Linked DNA regions of Homo sapiens: region 2 is linked to region 1. The links are contacts of gene promoters, found by promoter capture Hi-C in human tissues and cell types (Jung and others, 2019). All regions are on one chromosome and are shown on one strand. Each heading gives the region's core, a stretch centred on a gene start or on the middle of the fragment in contact. The rest is flanking DNA. Distances are from core to core; before and after follow the strand shown. Region 1 holds the start of KHSRP (KH-type splicing regulatory protein). Region 2 has its middle 6.3 kb from the start of ADGRE1.

Region 1 (3,712 bases), core at 1,124-3,623:
TAGAATAAAGTAGTAAGCACAGAAGAATTACCACCAAAAACAACCCTCCATGGCACCCAGGTCAACTTCTCAGAACATCTCCTGGACACGAAAGCCCATCAGGTCTTGGTGTCTGGCCCTCCAACTTAGGGAAGAGTCAGTTGGTTAAGACATCCTAGGAGTTTTGAACCTAGGCCTCAAGGTTCTCACCAGTTAACTGGGAATATCAAAATTCCCCTCTTCCCTTCTCCTGGGATTTGTGTCTTAATTGTGGCCAGCCCATAATCCACACTGACTTCGTTCTAGGGGTGACAAGGAACAGAGGCTCAGGTGTCAGGGAGGGTTCCCAGGTCATCTCCAAGAGCTTTCAGACACTTCCTCCTGCCAGTGGCCCCAGCTCAGAAAACCAGAAAGTGTGTTTTTTTTTAGCCCCGTTTTCCTGGGATGCTGAAGAGTTCAATTTTCCCCTATCTCCCCCACTCTCAAAATCCTTTTATCAATTTATTGAATAAATTTGAGCAAAGCGATCACTTCAAGGGATATGAAATCCTCATTTGACCAAAACAGAAGACTCTCTGGATGGCTGGGCACTGTGACTTATGCCTGTAATCCCAGCATTTTGGGAGGCCGAGGCGGGCAGATCACTTGAACTCAGGAGTTCGAGACAGACTGGCTGACATGGTCAAACTCCATCTCTACTAAAAATACAAAAATTAGCTGGGTGTGGTGGTGCACACTTATAATCCCAGCTACTCGGGAGGCTGAGGCAGGAGGAGCACTTCAACTGGAGAGGTGGAGGCTGTGGTGTGCTGAGATCGTGCCACTGCACCCCTGCCTGGGTGATATTGAGACTGTTTCCAAAAAACAAACAAACAAACAAAAAACCAAGACTCTATGGGACACAAGTTACATCTCAGACACGTGAAGAGCAACTTTAAAGAAACCTCAACCCAGCAAACTTAGGATCAGAGTCTGGGGTTTAGAAACCCAAACCATGTTAAGAATCTCCCTTTCCACCAGTCTCCATTTTTCTACGCTGCCCTAGAGCCAAAACTCATGGGATGCCCACAGGGGGCCTGTCCCCACCAACTGACAGCACCAGCTTCCTCCCTTCAAGCTGTCCCAGAATCAGACGGTTCCATGGGCAATAAGACCAAATGCACGCTAGAACCCACCCAACTCCAAGGGTGAGAGAGACGACAGAGGGCCAGAACACAGGCGTTCACTTAACGGGACCTCCCACCTTGGGAGGAGCCAGTCTCTAGCCCCGGAGGCATTGGGACAGCCCAGGAGCCGGTCGGCGGCAAAGTCCTCCCATTCTACCGACCCCCACCCCTCCAGGCCATGGGGAGGCTGCAAATGGAGCTGGAGAGGTCAGTCCTAGCAGCATGTGACACTTCCTTGTCATTACGCCTCAATACACGGGGGTGGGAGACCCTCCCTTCTTTCCCCCAAAGAGACAGACCACGCTTTCAAGCCACCAAAGCATCCAAGAGCCAGTCCCCATGCTCGTCTTCCCCATTTCGCCCAAGTGCTCAGCCCTAGACAGGTCCCCATCCACTTTCCCGACTGAAGAGGAAGGACTGTCCCTCCCACCCCCACAATGTCCCTTTCTCCTAGAGAGGGGACAGAAATGGGACTGGGTTGGGGGCAAACACTGCCCTTTGCCCTGATATGGAGGGGAGAGTAAAGGCCCTCCGCCCGGGAAGGTGGACCCCTGCCTCCAGGCATGTCCTAAGGCCGGGGGGCTAAGGGGGGGGTCCCAAAAGTGCGTCTCCGAGCTCCGGGGCGCCTGCACACCCAGGCGCCGCTCCTGGTGACCCCCAGTGCGCCCCTACTCCCTGCAGGGGGGTCACCCGTTGGGATCCCACTCGAGGCGCAGCGGGAGGGCCAGGCCCCCGCCTACCGCCCACGTGACCCCGCGACGGCCCCGGCCCCCCTCCGCGACCCTGCGCGCGCGCGCGCACGTGACCCCCGCCCCCTCCCCCGCCTGCGCGCGCGCGCGAGCGCGCCCCTCAGGCCCTCGGCCTCCTCACCTGGCGGGCCCGCTGCACGGCGTCGGCGAAAGCGTCCTTGCGGATTCCCGGGCCGCCTCCGCCGGGTGGCTGAGAGGGGCCCCCGGCCGACCCCCCGCCCGGGCCGCCGCCGCCGGGACCGCCGCCGCCCCGGTCCCCCGCGCCTGGCGGGCCCGGCGGAGGGCCTCCCCCGGCGCCTCCGGCTCCCCCGCCCCCGCCGGCGGGCGGCGGCGGCCCGGGCGGGGGTCCTCCCGTGCTGTAGTCCGACATGGCGCGGCGGGGCCGGGCCTGGCGCGGAGGCTGAAGCTGAGGAGGCGGCGGCGGCGGCGGCGGCTCAACGCGGGAACAAGGCCTCGCTCCACACGGCCGCGGAGCACTCTGGGAACCCAGCCGCTGGGAGGACGACGAGGGGGGAGAGAGTCGCCCCTCCCGCCGCCGACGTGACGGACGACTCCGGCGGGCCAATGGGAGGCAGCCGCCGCACCCCGGACACCAATCGCGAGCTCTGTAGGAGGTGGCCAATCGGAGTGCAATGAGGGGCAGTGGGCGGGAGGCTCAGAGTGACTGACAGCTCTCAGAGGCAATAGCTGCGAGCTGCCCGTGCTGGGCGGGCAAATGAAGGAGATCTGAGAAGGCAGGAGGCCCAATGAAACGCGAGTGCCAGATTCGCGGGGCGGCTTCAGAATTAGATTGACGGTTCTGAAGAGTCACGTGGACTGTAAGGCCGGGCCTAGTGGAAGACTCCTATGGACCGGCTGGGTGGGCGTTAGGTTTGATAGTCGTGGACACAAGCCAATGAATGCACGTGAGAGGTGGTGCTTGTAAAGATGGGCAGCCAATTAATCCAATTCCTGACGAGTTCTGGGTGATGAGGTTGGCTTTGGACTTTAATTGCTTCCCTTGTTAACCAGAATCCTTTTCTATCCCTGACTTCTAAGCCAATGGCTGAGCGACATGGGTGGGTGTTCGGTGACTGACACTGGTCTGGACAAATGGGAATGAAGGAAATCAAAGCGCCCACTTTTGGTGGGAGCCAGTGGAAGCGCCGCTGCATTGGGGCGGAGTCGGCCACCAGACAGCGAGGGGATTAGCGGGAACTGTAGTGAATGGCAGCCGACGTGGGCGGTGGCAATCGGCTGCCCGAACTCAGGCCTGATGTCTGGGTTAGCTCACCGGCAGCCTGGTTGGGTAGGCCCGGCACGTGGCCCGCTTGAAGCCTTAGAGATCGAGCGCTTCCGGAGGTGGGGAGGCCGGAAAGCAGGAAACTCGGGATCCCCCGGGCCTTCTTCTCTCTCGACCCCCCATCTAGAGCGTCCAGTTCTCTTGCAGGACTCAAGGAACCAGCCCCACTCACGAGTCCAGAACCGTTCCAACAACCGGGATCGAGGGATCACAGCCTCGATCACACCCCTCACTTCACACCCCTCACTCCCTTCGCCTAAGGCCCTGGGATCCAAGCCTCAAGCTCCTATCCTAGGTCCTCACTTCCTCTCCTGGACACAAATTCCCATTCAGGACCCAGAGGCCCAAGGTCCCCAGCTCCCCTACTGGGTCCAGGGATCTCATGCACCCAGTTCCACTCCTAGGCCCAAGTATCCAGACACGTTCAGCAAAAACCATCTCTTTATTCCTTGTTGTGTGACATGTTCACCATTTCGCCCTGGAGCCAGGACGACCCACAAGGGGCCAGACTGGAGTCCACGTTTCTTGTCTCAGGC
Region 2 (3,734 bases), core at 1,077-3,576, 460 kb after region 1:
TCCAAGGCAGCTCACTCACATGACTGTTGGTGGGAGGCTCAGTTCCTCCACAGCACTGCTTGAATCTCCTTACAACATGGCGACTGGCTACTCCCCAGTGCATGACCCTGGAAAGAGAGAGCAACGAGGATGCCACAATGGCACGTATGACCTAGTCACAAACTGTCATGTGCTCCTTTTTCTGATCAATAGAAACAAGTCACACTGGGCATAGTGTCTCATACGTGTAATCCCAGCACTTTGGGAGGCTGAGGCAGGAAGACCACTTGGGCCCAGAGTTCAAGACCAGCCTGGGCAACATAGCAAGATCCTATCTCTGCAAACAAACAAAAAGTCAGCTGGGTGTGGTGGCACATGCTTGTCATCCCAGCTACTTGGGAGGCTCATGTAGGAGGATCACTTGAGCCCAGGACTTGGAGGCTGCAATGAGCTATGATCATGCCACTGTACTCCAGCCTGGGCAACAGAGCAAAATTCTGTCTTAAAAAAAAAAGAGAGAGAGAGAGAGAGAGAGAAACAAGTCACTAAGTCTATGTTCAAGGAGAGAGGGATTAGTCTCTACCACCTGAAGAGTATGAAAGAACTGATGGATATGTTAAAACCACCACATTGGTCTTCCTGCCTCTAGAGTCCACACTCCTGGATACACTGAACAAGGATTATAGGAGAAAGTGCAAGCCTCTGGCAGTCACTTCTAGTAGATAACATTACCTGAAAGGGAATTATGGGGGGAGGAGGAGAGCGAGGACCAATATCACCAGGGGATGGGAGGTGGGAGGGGAGAGCTACATCTGTGGTCTCTGCAGAGCAGACACTTTTCCAGGGAAACCCTTTTCTTTCTAATCTTTGTGAGTCCCCCAGTGGATATTTGTGTATCTGAGACCTATGAGATACTCGTCCTATGAGACCTCATAGGACGCTGAGACCCCACATTCAGCATTCTATGATCAGGAGCATATGGAGAAGATGTGGGTGCAGAGACATTGCTCAAAGAATACAAAGTTTCAGTTGAACAAGAGGAATATGTTCGAGAGATCTATTGTACAACATGGTGACTGTAGTTAATAACAATGAACAATGTAGCATATCCTTGAAAATTGCTAAGAGGGTAGATGTAACTATTCTTACCACAAAAAAATGACGTGCATGCAAAGGAACAGATAGGTTTATTGCCTCGATTTAGCCATTCCACCACATATACGTATCTCAGAACACCATGTTGTACACCATAAATATATACAATTTAATTTGTCAATTCAAAAAAGAATTTTTTTTTTTTTTTTGACAGAGTCTTGCTCTGTCGCCCAGGCTGGAGTGCAATGGTGCAGTCTAGGCTCACTGCAACCTCTGCCTCCCAGGTTCAAGCAATTCTCCTGCCTCAGCCTCCATGTACCTGAGATTACAGGCACCCACCAGCACACCCAGCTAATTTTTGTATTTTTAGTAGAGACGGGGTTTCACCATGTTGACCAAGCTGATCTCAAACCCCTGACTTCGTGATCCACCCGCCTCGGCCTCTGAAAGTGCTGGGATTACAGGTGTGAGCCACTGTGCCTGGCCCAAAAACGGAAAAGAAAAAAAGAGAGCACATAGACCTCACATATTAACTAGGGGAAATAAGAAGTCAAAATAAACCAAGGCTCAGAAGCCAACGAATTAGAGCTGGTGTTTCTCATAGGTCTCAGACACCCAAATATCCACCTGCAGGCTTTTTTTTTTCTTTTTTTTTGAGACAGGGTCTCACTCTGTCACCCAGGCTGGAGTGCAGTGGTACAATCTCAGCTCACTGCAACCTTCTCCTCCTCCCGGGTTTAAGCGATTCTCCTGCTTCAGCCTCCCAAGTAGCTGAGACTACAGGTGTGCACCACCATGCCTGGCTAACAAAGATTGTAAAGAAAAGGATTTCCCTGGACAAGTGTCTGCTCTGCAGAGACCACAGATGTAGCTCTCCCTGCTCACCTCCCATCCTCTGGTAACATTAGTCCTCGCTCTCCTTCTACCCCCAGAATTCCCTTTCGGGTAATGTTATCTACTGGAATGGACTGCCAGAGGCTTGCACTTTTTCCTATAATCCTGGACTCTGGATACAGCGTGGAACAGAAAAATGTAGAAGGAAGCTGGGTGCGGTGGCTCACACCAGCAATCCCAGCACTTTGGGAGGGTATCGTGGGAGGATTGATTGAGCCCAGGAGTTCAGGACCAGAGACCAGCCTGGGCAACATTACCAGACTCCATCTCTACCAAAAAGTGTTAAAAAAAAAATTAGCCAGGCATGGTAGCAGGTGCCTGTAGTCCTGCTACTCAGGAGGCTGAGGTGGGAGGACTGCTGAAGCCCAGGAGATGGAGGCTGCAGTAAGCTGTGATTGCACCACTGCACTCCAGCCTGGGCAACAGAGCGAGACTCTCTAAAAGAAATAAAAATTTTTTAAAAATTTAAAAATTACAGAGGGGGCCGGGCCTGGTGGCTCATGCCTGTAATCCTAGCACTTTGGGAGGCTGAGGTGGGTGGATGACAAGGTCAAGAGATAGAGACCATCCTGGCCAACATGGTGAAACCCTTCTCTACTAAAAATACAAAAATTAGCTGGGCATGGTGGCATGTGCCTTTAGTCCCAGCTACTTGGGAGGCTGAGGTGGGAGAATTGCTTGAACCCAGGAGGCGGAGGTTGCAGTGAGCCGAGATCGCGCCACTGCACTCCAGCCTGGCAACAGAGCAAGATTTGGTCTCAAAAAACAAACGAAAAAATTGCAGAGGGAATCCTAGAGCTGTGGAAGTCTGGATAGGTGCCCTCTTCAGACAGCAGCTTCTTTCAAACTTAATGAGGCTTTGCACATGCTTTATTTTATTTTTCTTTTGTATTACCTTTTCTGCTAAGTGTGATTATCTCCTGCTCATTCTCCAGGGCTAAGCTTAGACGTTAGCTCCTTTGGGAGGCCATTCTCTCAACCCCCAACCTGGGTCAGGCCTCCTCTGGCCAAGTAATAGCTTCCTCACCTCTGGCTTTCTGTATCTTACAATGGGGAGGACAATCCTGTCTTTTCCCCAGCAACCCTGGGGTGTTGGGCGTGTGGACATCATCCATGCCTGATAACAATACCAACCATCTCAACCAAGGGAAATGAGAAGTCAAAAGACACCAAGAGTCAGAAGCCAACAAGTTAGAGCTGGTGTTTCTGTTTATGGAGCTCATGGCAGGCACTCACCTGCCGCATATGCTGAGCGGTTTCCAGCATCCCTACATGCTCAAGGATCCTGTGGGACAGGGCTGATCATTATCCCTATTCTCCTGATAAGAGACTGAGGCTCAGAGAGGTGAATCACCTCCTGTGGTCACTTTGGAAATACCTTACAGAGTCAGGATTTGAACCCATGGCTGTCTGAGTTCAGTTCCTGTCACTGCAATAACCAACACTTGGAACGTTGGGTGCCAGGCTCTGTTCTTGGTATGCCATATATACTCACTCCTCTGATGCCCACACCAGGTCCATGAGGCAGATCCTACTCTTTTTTTTTTGAGACAGAGTCTTGCTCTGTCACCCAGGCTGGAGTGCAGTGGCACAATCTCAGCTCACTGCAACCTCCACCTCCCGGGTTCAAGTGATTCTCCTGCCTTGGACTTCCAAGTAGCTGGGATTACAGGCACGTGTCACCACGCCCAGCTAATTTTTTGTAGTTTTAGTTGAGACGGGATTTCACCATGTTGGCCAGGCTGGTCTCGAACTTCTGACCTCAA

What was found. Contacts are between HindIII fragments. The study calls those that stand out against the background at their distance.
Region 2: a contact is called between a fragment that was not itself captured here and the fragment with the promoter of KHSRP in region 1, in 2 of the 25 tissues and cell types used here (IMR-90 fibroblasts and spleen).

What each region holds. Positions count from the first base shown.
Region 1 is chr19:6,422,438-6,426,149 of GRCh38, forward strand. KHSRP (KH-type splicing regulatory protein) reads right to left here and starts at 2,374. Exons shown (of 19, transcript NM_001366299.1): 1 at 2,016-2,374. The coding sequence starts at 2,264. It overlaps SLC25A41 (solute carrier family 25 member 41), which reads right to left. Exons shown (of 7, transcript NM_173637.4): 7 at 3,600-3,712. RefSeq lists an enhancer at 2,682-2,801. The HindIII fragment of the contact is 26,210 bases long and covers 1-3,712 here.
Region 2 is chr19:6,879,401-6,883,134 of GRCh38, forward strand. No RefSeq gene overlaps it. Among named protein-coding and RNA genes, the nearest start is that of ADGRE1, 6.3 kb to the right of the region's middle. The HindIII fragment of the contact is 4,197 bases long and covers 229-3,734 here.